Regions from separate parts of the Homo sapiens genome. Here regions 1 and 3 are each linked to region 2. The links are contacts of gene promoters, found by promoter capture Hi-C in human tissues and cell types (Jung and others, 2019). All regions are on one chromosome and are shown on one strand. The core of a region is centred on a gene start or on the middle of the fragment in contact, and the rest is flanking DNA. Distances in the headings are between cores, read along the strand shown.

Region 1 (4,423 bases), core at 1,044-3,543, 58 kb after region 2:
ACATAGTGAGACCCCTATCTCTACAAAGAAAACAAAAAAAATTAAAAATTAGTTGGGTGTGGTGATGTGTACCTGTGGTCTTAGCTACTCAGGAGGCTGAGGTGGGAGGATTGCTTGAGCCCAGGAGTTCAAGGCTGCAGTGAGCCATGATTGTGCTACTGAAATCCAGACAGGTCGACAGAACACCCTGTCTCTAAAAAAACAAACAAATTAAGATAAAATAAAATTGAGCCAAAAGCCTTCATCCTCAAATTTGCACCAATATGACAAAATGCTCTGGTTTCATTTTATTTGGACTCTGTGTGTGATAGTGTAAACATTTATAGAGTGAATGAAAAGACAGACTGATGGACCAACTGTGAAATGAACTGGTTCTATTTAAAAGAAAAAAAGGTCCGGTATAGTGGCTCACGCCTGTAACCCCAGCACTTTATGAGGCTGAGACAGGCAGATCACCTGAGGTGAGGAGTTCAAGACCAGCCTGGCCAACATAGTGAAACCCCATCTCTACTAAAAATACAAAAATTAGCCTGGCATAGTGGCATATGCCTGTAATCCCGCTACTAGGGAGGCTGAGGCGGGAGAATTGCTTGAACCCTGGAGGCAGAGGTTGCAGTGAGCCGAGATCACGCCACTGCACTCCAGCCTGGGCGACAGAGCCAGATTCTGTCTAAAAAATATATATATATATATTCACAAATCAAACCCTACAGTCTCACCAAGAGTGCCACTAGAGGGAGCTGCGGCGCAGCGTTCACCCCATGGGAGCGCCCTGGGGCTCCCCCAGCACTTCCCACGCTCTGGGGTGGCTTTCGAGGACATTCCGGCTACCCCTTCCCATCACACCCCCATGTCTTTCTTTTTTGTTGACCCGCATGTTTTCTCATGTACATGCCAACCCAGAGGTTAGGGACAGAGGCGAGTCCATGGGCAGAACTGGTCCCCAGTGCGCTGGGACACTTAATAAATGTCACATTTTGTGTCTCCAATAAAGGAAACTGAGGGCCTGTTGGCAGAAGCCCAGCCTGGGAACCAGGAGGCGGCTGCTCAACGGCGCTGGGCATTCCCTGTGAGTCCACCACGGTTCCCAACATGACGCCTTAGGTTTTACATGGGGAAGTAGTGCTTCCTCCATTTCACTCGTGGAAAAAAAAATGGAATTTCAGAGTGATTTGTAAAGGGTGCATAGGAAGTTAGTGGACTTTGAACCCAGAACTTTTTATCCACAAAACTCATGGAATTAACACTGCACCATCGGCTTTGAGTTTTCAAATATGTCCATACTGAGAGGGTTGCTTTTTGTGAGATCCAGTGAGGCTAGAAGACTGAGTCCAGGGTTCCGTTGGAGTCCGCAGAAGGGAAAAGGAAGGCAGTTACCCTGGAGTCCTTCCCGAGGGCCGGAGGCCGGCCAGTGTCACCACTCCGAAGCGCAGTGTGGACCCGCCCCAGGCAACAGTCCTCAAGGTTCCTGTCTGTAATGGATTGAATGTTCGTGTCTTCCCCAAATTCACGTGTTGAAGCCCTAACCCCAATGTAATGGGATTGGGAGGTAGGGCCTTTGGGAGGTAAGGAGGTTTAGATGAGATCATTAGGGTGGAGCGCTCATGATGGGATTAGTGTTCTTATGAGAAAAGACACCACAGGCTCTTGCACTCTTGCAGGGCGTGCTGGGTTGTGCTCTCTCTCTCTCTCTCTTGCCCCCCCCCCCCGCGCGCTCTCTCTCTCCCGCCCCCTTTCTCCCTTTCTCTCTCTCTCTCCTTCCCCCACTAATTCTCTCTCTCTTCTCTAGTTCTCTCTCTCTCCCTTTCTCCCTCTCTCTCCCTCTCTTCTCCCATCCTCTCCCTCTCTCTCTCCCTTTCACCCTCCCTCTCTCTCCTTCTTTTCTCCCATCCTTTCTCTCTCCCCCCTCTCTCTCCCATTCTCCCTCTGTCTCTCTTTCCCTCGCCCCCTTTTTCCCTTTCTCTCTCTCTCTCCCTCTACCACTTCTCTCTCTCCCTCTCCCCTTCCTCTCTCCTTGCCTGCTTCCCTTTCTCTTTCTCTCTCTCTCCTCCTTTCCCTCTCCCTTTTTCCCTCTCCCTTTCTCCCTCTCTCCCTTTCTTTCTCTTCCTTTCCATCTCTCTCTCTCTGCCCTCTGAGTTCACAGTGAGAAGGCAGCAATCTACAAACCAAGCAGAGGGCCCTCGCCAGCAACCAAATCAGCCAGCACCTTGATCTTGGACTTCTAGACTCCAGAACTGTGAAAAATACATGTCTGTTGCCTAAGTCGCTGAGTTTATGCTATTTTGTTTGTTATAGCGGCCCAAGCAGACAAACACACTGTCCTCACCTCTCTCTTCTTTAAGATGGTTTTCCCCTTCTCCCAGTAAAACCTGCTCTCAGCTAAAGATTTCACCTATTTCACAAACTCCTCAGCTGATGTGATATACTCTGAAGTGCGGGAATCATTGGTAGAGTGGTTAAGTGTATGGGTTTTGGATTAAATACATTATGCAAATACTTAAATTTGGAGCCTGGGCAACATAATGAGACCCAGTCTCTACAAGAAGTAAAATAAATAAATAAATAAATAAACAAACAAACAAACAATGAGGCGGGTGTGGTGGTGCACACCTGTAGTTGGCTACTCCAGAGTCTGAGGTGGCAGGATCACTTGAGCCCAGGAGGTGGAGGCTGCAGGGAGCTATCATTACAACACTGCACCCCAGCCTGGGCCATAGAGCAAGACCTTGTCTCAAAAAAAAAATGGGCTTTGGGTATGGGCAGGCTATCCCCCCACCCCCGCCGACCCCAAACCTCCTCTCCCTCGTGTGTGAAATGAAGATACTAATACTTTTCTTATAAGGTCGTGGGGACATTCAGTGATTCCATCCATGTGCAACCTTGTGCAGTGCAGGCACTGGGTAAGAGCTCCATAACGTTTGTTTCCTTTCTTCCTTGTACAGTCTCGGATTCCAAGGACATGTTTACAGTTTTGCAGAAACTTTAGTGAAAAGAAAAAAGCAGCCAGGGCTGGGCGCTGTGGCTCACACCCATAATCCCAGCACTTTGGGAGGCTGAGGCAGGTGGATCACGAGGTCAGGAGTTCAAGACCAGTCTGGCCAATATGGTGAAACCCCATCTCTACTAAAAATACAATTAGCCGGGCATGGTGGCAAGTGCCTATAGTCCCAGCTACTCAGGGGGCTGAGGCAGAAGAATTGCTTGAACCGGGGAGGCAGAGGTTGCAGTAAGCTGAGATAGCGCCACTGTACTCCAGCCTGGGCAACAGAGTGAGCCTCCGTCTCAAAAAAAGAAAGAAAGAAAAAAAGCAGCCAGGCTTAGTGGCTCACACCTGTAATTCCAGCAAATTGAGAGGCCAAGGCAGGAGGATCACTTGAGCCCAGGAGTTCAAGGCCAGTCTGGGGAACACAGTGGGACCCCCATCTCTACAAAATTTAAAAAATTATCTGGGTGTGGTGGTACATGCCTGTGGTCCCAGCTTACTCTGGAGGCTGAGGTGGGAGGATGGCTTAAGCCTGGGAGGTCGAGGCTGCTGTGAGAGTGAGCCATGGTCGTGGCACTGCACTCCAGCTTGGGTGACAGGGCAAGACTCTGTTTCAAAAAAAAGAAAAAGAAAAAAGCTAAAATGGGAAAATTCTAGGCATCAACCTGTGAATGGAAGAAGTATTTGGGGTGGGGAGGAACATTTAGAGATTGTGGACCTTGAATCCTCACCCTGTGCACAACGGAATTGTGGACTTCGGTCCACAATTGGGGACTCGCCCCCAATGCAAGAAGAGTGCATCGTGATACTCCACACACACGCATCCACATGTACACACAGACACATACACACACAGACACACACACACAGAGGCACAGACACACACAGGCGCACACACACACACACACACACATTTGTTCAGGATCAGGATTTGCTTTCTGGTTCTTGTTTTGGTTTGTTTTTTTTTCGGTTTTGGTTTTTTGTTTTGTTGAGACAGAGCCTCACCATGTTGCCCAGGCTGGAGTGCAGTGGTACGATCTCAGCTCCCTGCAACCTCCGCCTCCCAGGTTCAAGCGATTCTGCCTCAGCCTCCCGAGTAGCTGGGATTACAGGTGCCCGCCATCACGCCTGGCTAATTTTTGTATTTACAGTAGAGATGAGGCTTCGCCATGTTGGTCAGGCTGGTCTCAAACTCCTGACCTCGTGATCTGCCCGCCTCGGCCTCCTAAAGTGCTGGGATTACAGACATGAGCCACTGCACCCGACCAGGATTTGCTTTCTTGACTGCTCTGCACATCCCCTCCCTGTTTGTCCTCTACTCCACTGTGCTGGAATCTTCTGTTGCCCTTTTGAGGTTTACTCTCCACTCTTTTCCACCCTGCTCTGAGCCCCAGGATGTTGACCTAAGGGACACATCAATGGGCTCCCTTGTCCTTTGTC
Region 2 (4,286 bases), core at 387-2,886:
TCAAATCAGCAGTGTGAGCAGGTGGGAATACCACTGGACTGAGATTCCGATCCTGACTCGATGGCTAAGGACTTGTGGACTCTCTGAGCCTCAGGTATCTCTTTTATCAATACCAGGGGGCCCTCCGAGGTCCCCTTCGGGTTTAAGGTTGTGCAGACCCAGATCGCCACTCTCTGTGTCTAAATGAGCCAGGGGAGGGCCCACCTTCTCACCCTGTTCTCCACAATGGCTTGGCTGTGCTTTCCAAAGAGGAGTGCTAGAGAGGCCTGGATGAATGATTTCAGGCCCATGGTGGGCAAGTACTCATAATTCAGGGAGGGATCCTGTGAAATCTGTAGTCGAGTCTTCTGCACCACGAGAGAAACCCAGGGATGGCCTTCATTTGTCATGCAGACTGTGAGGAAAACCACAGAGGGAGCTCCAGATGCCTGGTTTGGGCCCCCAGGGCTGAGCTCTGCAGACAGCCTGCAAACAAATCTCTCCTGGACTCCATGGGGCTGTGGGAAGGTGCCTGTGAAAATACAACTTTCCCTTTTCTTTTCTCCTTGATGAAAAGAATATGCTGTTAGTGAATGTGTATTATTTTTGTCTTTTTAAAAAAGACAACTGAAACCTATGCCATTTTAAAGGTTAAAAATTATACAAGCCCAGGATTGGTGGCTCAGGCCTGTAATCCCAGCACTTCGGGAGGCTAAGGTGGGTGGATCACTTGAGTTCAGGAGTTCAAGATCAGCCTGGGCAACATGATGAAACCCTGTCTCTACAAAAAAATACAAAACAGCCAGACATGGTGACCAGCGCCTGTAGTCCCAGCTACTCAGGAGGCTGAGGCAAGAGGATGGTTTGAGCCCAGGAGGCAAAGGTGGCAGTGAGCTGAGATCTTGCCACTGCACTTCAGCCTGGGCAACAGAGTGAGGCCCTGTCTCAAGAAAAAAAAAAAAAAAATATATATATATATATATATATATATATATATATATATATATGCAAAATGAGAGTTATAGGTAGATGAAGCTAAATAAAGGTAACCCTGACTTTCACAGTGGTGAGCCCCAGTTGCATAGCAGAAAGCTCAATCTGGAGAACCATTCTTGGTTCAAGAACAGGAAGAGAAAGAGAAAGAGAGAGAGAGGAGGTAAGAATCTGAAGAAGTGTGGGATGGCCATGCAGGCCCCCAAGCATAGAGTTGTGGAAGAGGACATAGCTCTCACCAAATCCCTAGAAGCCCCCAGAGAAGGGCAGAGAGCATGGAATGACCTGGGACCTTATCTGCACTTTTCCCCACTGGGTAATTCTGTTAACAAGAAAAGATCTCTCCACCCACAGAAGCTTGGGCTGCACCCCTCCCCCTGCAGCAGGGAACACTGTCCTCCTAGAGGCAGTTACCATCACTTAAGTCTTATACTTCAGAACTGCTAGGCATCTACCTCTATAGGCTAAGAATATCTTGTTCGGGTAATCATCTTGTTTGTAGGTCTTTAACAAGCTGCCCTCTAGCTTGTGGGCGAGGGGCACATCCATGAACACTGAAAGGGTGGGCATAACTGAAACGAAACTGGAGCCAAGACTATGTGTCTCTGCTCCTGTGTTCCGCTTCTGCCCAGAAGTCTTCCTCCAAGGCTGGGCCGGGCAGTCCTGCCTCTTCCTGGAACCTTGGCAGCCCCAGTGCAGAGGCGCTGGACAACGGGTTGCCAGGGCAACAGAACCTCATGATCTTTGTGGTGGCGATCCACAGGGGCCACAGGAACATTCCAGGGTACTTGAGGAGAATCCCCTCAGACAGCGGGCAGGGCAGGATAACAATCTCCGGAATTCCCAAGCCCGTTTCCCTCACTCAATGCCTTCTCTTCTCTAGCCCCAGGTGGCTCAGTCCAAAGTAACAAGCCCACTCCTTAGATGACAGGGCAAGGATAATGGGAGATTACTTAACAGATACAATGTACATTGTTGGGGTTATGGATACCCTAAAAGCCCTGACTTCACCACTATGCGATGTATGCATCTAACAAAATTACACTTGTACTTCACACATTTATACAAATTAAAAAAAAAAAAAAGAAAGAAAGACATAGGGCAAGGCAGGCAGCCAATAAGCCAGATAGGGCTTCTCCTGCAGAAGCAAAAACCCCAGATCACACACCAATGCAAGTCGAGGCATTGATTTCCATTTTGCAAAGTGCCCCAGATTTCAAAAGGAATAAAAAGCAAACACTGTTTTCTTCCACAGTTGTTTTAATAAAGAATCCTATTATTAGAATATAATTGGCAACTCACTAAGCCAGTCCTATTTCTCTCAGTTATCTAGAGCCAAGACTTCTACATATGTTTGTTAAGTTTCTTTTTCTTTCTTTTTTTGGTTTTTTTTTTTTTTGAGATGGAGTCTCACTTTGTCGATAGTCTCGAACTCCTTGCCTCAGGTGATCTGCCTGCCTTGGCCTCCCAAACTGCTGGGATTACAGGCATGAGCCACCACACCTGGCCATTTGTTAAGTTTCAATGACAGCCAACTAGTAAGTATAGACAGCAGAGGCCAAGGGGAGAAAAGAGCCAGCCTCTATAGAGTCAGTCTGCATATTGCTTGCTTTCTTTTCCTTTTGATGTTTAATGACTCTCTCTTTTTTTTTTTTTTTTTTTTTGAGACAGAGTCTCGCTCTTGCTGCCCACATTGGAGTGCAGTGGTGTGATCTCGGCTCACTGCAACCTCTGCTTCCCAGGTTCAAGAGATTCTCCTGCCTCAGCCTCCCGAGTAGCTGGGATTACAGGCATGCGCCACCACACCCAACTAATTTTGTATTTTTAGTAGAGAGGGGGATTTCTCCATGTTGATCAGGCTGGTCTCAAACTCCAGACCTCAGGTGATCTGCCCACCTGGGCCTCCCAAAGTGCTGGGATTACAGGCGTGAGTCACTGCGCCCGGCTTTTTTTTGTATTTTTAGTAGAGACAGGGTTTCACCACGTTGGCCAGACTGGTCTCAAACTCCTGACCTCAAGTGATCTGCCTACCTCAGCCTCCCAAAGTGTTAGGATTACAGGCATGAGCCACCACACCCAGCCTGATGTTAAATAACTCTTTAAATGATTGTTGCAAACACTGTTGATGTCTCACCCAGAAGGCCTTCACCACCAATGTGCCCGGCCCCAGCTGCTGCTTCGCTGGTGGACAAGGCTTATATGCCTGTGTTCTCTGGAGAATTGTGCTTGGCTGGCAGGAGTCAGCTAGCCTAGAAACCACCTGGAGGTTTCACCCCCACTGACAGGGGTAGCCAATGACTGCCTGATTTAGGCATACAAAGGGTCAGCCACAGCCAGGCATGGTGGCTCACACCTGCAATCCTAGTGCTTTGGGAGACTGAGGCGGGAGGATCACTTGAGCCCAGGAGCTCAAGACCAGCCTGAGCAACATAGGGAGACCCCCCCCACCCACTCCACAAAAAATTTTAAAATTAGCTGGGCGTGGTGGTATTGCAGTGAGCTATGATCATGGCACTGCACTCCAGCCTGGTTGACAGAGTGAGATCCTGTCTTTAAAAAAAAAAAAAGGTCGGGCACGGTGGCTCACACCTGTAATCCCAGCACTTTGGAAGGCCAAGACAGGCAGATCACAAGGACAGGAGATTGAGACCATACTGGCTAATGGGGTGAAACCCCGTCTCTACTAAAAATACAAAAAAAAAATTAGCCTGGCTTGGTGGTGGGCGCATGTAGGGAGGAGGCTGAGACAGGAGAATTGCTTGAACACGGGAGGCAGAGGGCACAGTGAGCCGAGATCTCTCCACTGCACTCTAGCCTGGGTGACAGAGCGAGACTGTCTCAAAAAAAAAAAAAAAGGAAAAGAAAAAGAAAAAAGGCCAGCCCCCTTGTCTCGGTTCACCTCTGTGGCTCAATCTACACTTCAGGGCCCATTCCCCAACCAGGCGAAGCCTAGACTTGACCTGAGGCCACATCCTTGCTTGGTTCCTTCCCCTTCACAATCCTGCTTCCTTCACTCCCTTCCAGGTTCTTCCTGAAGGGCACTCCTTCCCTAAGTCACATGCCCAGGAACTCCTGTCTCAGGCTATGCTCCCAGGGAACCTGTTTTGAGGCAAATGATTATGAAAGTAGTCCGTATTATTGTAGAAAACTCAAAAGCATCAAAAAATTATAATGAAGCACACAAATTCCCTACAACCAATCCATAACTTCAGTCCGGGTGCACCTCCATCCAGTTTCTATTCTTTGACATTTATATTTTAAGGTAATTGCTATCAACATTTATGTGTCATTTTCATCATACTTTCTTCACTTAA
Region 3 (4,487 bases), core at 1,846-4,345, 59 kb before region 2:
CCGGGTGTGGTGGCAGGCGCCTGTGGTCCCAGCTACTCAGGAGACCGTGGCAGGAGAATCACTTGAACCCAGGAGGCAGACGTTGCAGTGAGCCGAGATCGCACCACTGCACTCCAGCCTGGACAACAGAGTGAGACTCCATCTCAAAAAAAAAAAAAAAAAAAAAAAGCAAAGATCATACACAAACAGTTAAGAAGGGTGGCGTGCAAATGATGTATAATTAAATCTCAGAGAAAATCAAGTTTGTAGTAAGGAATGGTCCCTGCCAGGGAGTAAAAAAATAATAATAATACAACACAGAATTAAAAAAAAAAAAAAAGTGGGGAGGGGGTTGGGCATGGTGGCTCACACCTGTAATCCCAGAGATTTGGGAGCCTGAGGCAGGAGGATCACTTGAGGCCAGGAGTTCAAGACCAGCCTGGGCAATATTGCGAGACTCCATCTCCATAAAAAATTAAAAAATTTGCCGGCATGGTGGTGTGCGCCTATACTCTCAGCTACTCAACATGAGCCTAGGAATTCGAGGCTGCAGTGAGCTATAATTGCACCACTGCACTCTAGTCTGGGTGACAAAGTGAGACTCTGTTTCTAAAAATAAATAAATAAAAATAAAGAATTTTTTAAAAGAGTGAAATCAGGCTAGGCACAGTGGCTCACGCCTGTGATACCAGTACTTTGGGAGGCCGAGGCAGGCAGATCACCTGAGGTCAGGAACTCAAGACCAGCCTGGCCAACATGGCGAAACCCCGTCTCTACTAAAAATACAAAAATTAGCCGGGCATCATGGCGAGCACCTGTAATCCCAGCTATGCAGGAGGTTGAAGCAGGAGAATTGCTTGAACCCGGGAGGCGGAGGTTGCAGTGAGCCAAGATCATGCCACTGCACTCCAGCACTCCAGCTTAGGCGACAGAGCCAGACTCCATCTCAAAAAAAACAAAAAAAAAAGTGAAATCAGTCAGTTAGAAAATGACAAACACTATATGAGTCCACTTATGTGAGGTTCCTGGGTTAGTCAAATTCATCCAGTCAGAAAGTAGAATGGTGATTGCCGGAGGAGGGGAAGGAGAGAATGAGGAGTTAATGTTTGATGGGTATAGAGCTTCAGTTGTGGAAAATGAAAAAGTTCCGGAGATGGATGGCGGTGATGATCACACAACAATGTGAATATTCTTAATGACATTGAACTGCACACTTAAAAATGGTTAAAATGGGGCCAGGCGCAGTGGCTCACGCCCGTAATCCCAGCACTTTGGGAGGCCAAGGCGGGCAGATCACTTGAGGTCAGGAGTTTGTGACCAGCCTGACCAACATGGTGAAACCCCATCTCTACTAAAAATACAAAAAATAGCCGGGTGTTGTGCCACATGCCTGTAATTTCAGCTACTCTAGAGGCTGAGGCAGGAGAATCGCTTGAACCCGGGAGAGGGAGGTTGTAGTGAGCCAAGATCACACTACTGCACTCCAGCCTGGGTGACAGAGTGAGACTCTGTCTCAAAAAAACAGGTTAAAATGGTAAATTTAATGTTACATATATTTTACCACAATAAAAAAAATGGTTAGTTGGAAAGGAAGCCTTCTTCCCTAGCTTAATAATCAGAAAAAGTCACATTTCAAACACTATCCAAGAATTACACTTGGTCATTTGCAACCCACTTCAAGATGTGAAAAATGACATTATACCAGTCCAACTCCACTGAGAGACAAGCTTCAGAAAAAGGAGATCTCATGGCATTCATTTTCCATTTAGGAGCCCTATACCTTTGGTGAACTGTAAGAATGTGAGCCAGGTTGGGTACAGTGGCTCACACCTGTAATCCCAGTGCTTTGGGAGTCTGAGAGAGGAGGATTGGTTGGATCCAGGAGTTTGAGACCAGTATAGGCAACAAGGCAAGATCCCATTCTCCAAAAAAAAAATTTTTGTTTTTTTGAGACAGAGTCTCGCTCTGTCCCCCAGGCTGGAGTGCAATGGCGCGATCTCGGCTCACTGCAACCTCCGCCTCCCGGGTTCAAGTGATTCTCCTGCCTCAGCCTCCCGAGTAGCTGGGACTACAGGTATATGCCACAATGCCCAGCTATTCTTTGTATTTTTAGTAGAGACAGGGTATGGTTAGACAGGCTGGTCTCAAACTCCTGACCTCAAGTGATCCACCCACCTTGGCCTCCCAAAGTGCTGGGATTACAGGCATAAGCCACCAAGCGTGGCTAAAAATATTTTTTTTTAATTAGCTGGGTGCAGTGGTGCGTACTTAATAGTCCCAACTACTTGGGAGGTTGAGGCAGGAGGATCACTTGAACCCAGGAGTTCAAGGCTGTAGTAAGAGCTATGATTGCACCACTGCACTCCAGCCTGCGCAACAGAGTGAGACCCTATCCCTTTCAAAAAAAAAAAAAAAAAATGTGAGCCCAGTTTGTAGCAAGACCATACAATGGGACAAATAACTCCAAATACCTGGTCTATAGTGAGCTGTCCACCAGGTCACCCTCACAAACTGAGAACTCACATTCTGAAGTTCTTTTCGGTGACCTATTTAAGAGCGGAAGGTAGTGGACTTAAAGGAAATGATGGTTTTGCCCAAATGAGCACAACTTCCTCTTTCACCTTCAGCCATGGCTGGTGGCTCGCTCACAGGGCAGATCCCTGCCCCCACTGCTACGGCTCCTTCTACACTTAGAGGAAAGGCACAGGGGAAAGTCGAAACCTAACACCTAAACAGCACCTGTGGCATACCTGACACTGCCTACGCACAGAGACATCTTCATTTCAGCCTCACAAGAACGACACGGAGTAGATATTATACCCATTTTATAGATGAAGAAATTGAAGCTCAGAGGTCTGAGAACTGGCACAAGGTCTTGCAACCACTATGGGGTACAGCTAGGATTCCAAATCAGTTTCCCCTATTCTTTCTCCTATTCTTTCCCCTACACCAAGACTCCTGCTTTAAATTCTCTCCTAATTTATCTTGGATGGGCCATCTTTTGTAACATAGAGAAAAGAGGGTTCAAATTTAAATTCTTTTTGAGAAACATTTAAGCTTCTCATTTAAATGTCCAAAGATGAAAGAAGAAAGGAAGGAAACTAACATAGCTTGCCATCAGTCATAAATCGTTGAGATTACTTAAAGGCCAGTATACAAAGTCATCAAGAAGAACTTAAAATGAATTCACAAAATACAGCAAGGAGAGGATAAAATTATATGAGCTATAATTTTGGACCCTTAGGAGACAAATCTTTTATGGTTTTTATAACCTCAATCCAGAGCTGGGCAGGCGGGGAGTGGTGGGTGTTGCAAGACGCAAGGTCTTTTTTTATTTTTTATTTTTTGCAACAGGGTCTCACTCTCTTGCCCAGGCTGGAGTGCAGTGGTGCGATCATAGCTCACTGCAGCCCTGGACTCCTGGGCTCAAGTGGAAAATGCAAGGTCTTTATAGACAATGTCACCCTTGCCAGCCTAGTGTCTGTCCAATACATTTTCCAGGGCCTGGCCTGGAATTGTCTGCATATTTGTCACTTCAATTTTGAGAGGATTATTTATATTTTTCTCTTCTGACAGTCATGTGGTAAATGGTAGCCTTGGTGATGAAGGGTGTTTAGCTTTTGTAAATACCAGTTGCAGGCACCTGAAAAGGAGAAGTTGCTGAACGCTAACTGAGGAGGTTTCGATGACCTCACCAACCGCAGGCGGGCAGCACGCTTCACCTCCCCGCCCAGGGCAGGAGCTTCAGGCAGGGGTTTCTCCACAGCTCTTCCACACGGGCCCTTCTATTAGCCCTCCACGGGGATGCACAAATGTGACAGGCCTCCAAAGCAGCTGTCAGAGGCATTCAAACCAGTGCAACTCCATCTTGAGTGAGGGCTAGGAAAATGAGGCTGGGACTTGCTGCGCTGCATTCCCAGAAAGTTAGGTATTCCTAGCCTCTAGATGTTTATGGGTAAGGGAACAGATGGATAATGTTTACCAAACAGACCCAGACTTGGGAGTGTTCTAATATCCCCAAATCTGGAGAACAAAGGCTATCCTAATTTTGCTTTGAAGCTAATAATATTGATTCTCACAAAATATAGTAATTAAGAAAATTAATCCTTTATCACAAACCCTTGTAGTAGGGCACATCTCTCAATGATCTTTTTATCCTGTGTATGAATAAGCATAGTGCCTAGAGTGGAGGTGTTCCTCCTCTTACTTTCGGGAACGTCCTACTCTGTCTATGGAGTAGCTGTACCTTCAATACTTTGCTTTCTTAATAAACTTGCTTTTACTTTGCACTGCAGACTTGCCCTGAATTCTTTCTTGCGGGAGACCAAACACTCTCTTTTGGGGTCTGGATCAGGACCCCTTTCCTGTAACATAGCCAGTTGACAATTCCAAGGGCCAGCCTTGCCTTTCCGAAAGTATCAGTGAGGTTTTCTTTGCACTTCCTAATGGTTTTTGAGCAAAACTACAACCGATTCCAGAATCCTCCCTCGGGACCAATTATTACCTGA

The links. The method cuts DNA at HindIII sites, captures the fragments that hold promoters and counts their contacts. A contact is called where the count stands out against the background at its distance.
Region 1: a fragment that was not itself captured here is called in contact with the fragment with the promoter of GOT1L1 in region 2 in 1 of the 25 tissues and cell types used here (neural progenitor cells).
Region 3: a fragment that was not itself captured here is called in contact with the fragment with the promoter of GOT1L1 in region 2 in 11 of the 25 tissues and cell types used here (H1 embryonic stem cells, IMR-90 fibroblasts, adrenal gland and 8 more).

Annotation. Positions count from the first base shown.
Region 1 is chr8:37,995,709-38,000,131 of GRCh38, forward strand. No RefSeq gene overlaps it. Among named protein-coding and RNA genes, the nearest start is that of ADRB3, 31 kb to the left of the region's middle. The HindIII fragment of the contact is 7,620 bases long and covers 1-4,423 here.
Region 2 is chr8:37,938,488-37,942,773 of GRCh38, forward strand. GOT1L1 (glutamic-oxaloacetic transaminase 1 like 1) reads right to left here and starts at 1,637. Exons shown (of 9, transcript NM_152413.3): 1 at 1,428-1,637; 2 at 213-394. The coding sequence starts at 1,542. RefSeq lists an enhancer at 1,143-1,659. The HindIII fragment of the contact is 11,209 bases long and covers 1-4,286 here.
Region 3 is chr8:37,878,389-37,882,875 of GRCh38, forward strand. The region is part of intron 1 of RAB11FIP1 (RAB11 family interacting protein 1); the gene reads right to left. Among named protein-coding and RNA genes, the nearest start is that of RAB11FIP1, 19 kb to the right of the region's middle. RefSeq lists enhancers at 1,611-2,325, 2,326-3,039, 3,437-3,546. The HindIII fragment of the contact is 7,013 bases long and covers 1-4,487 here.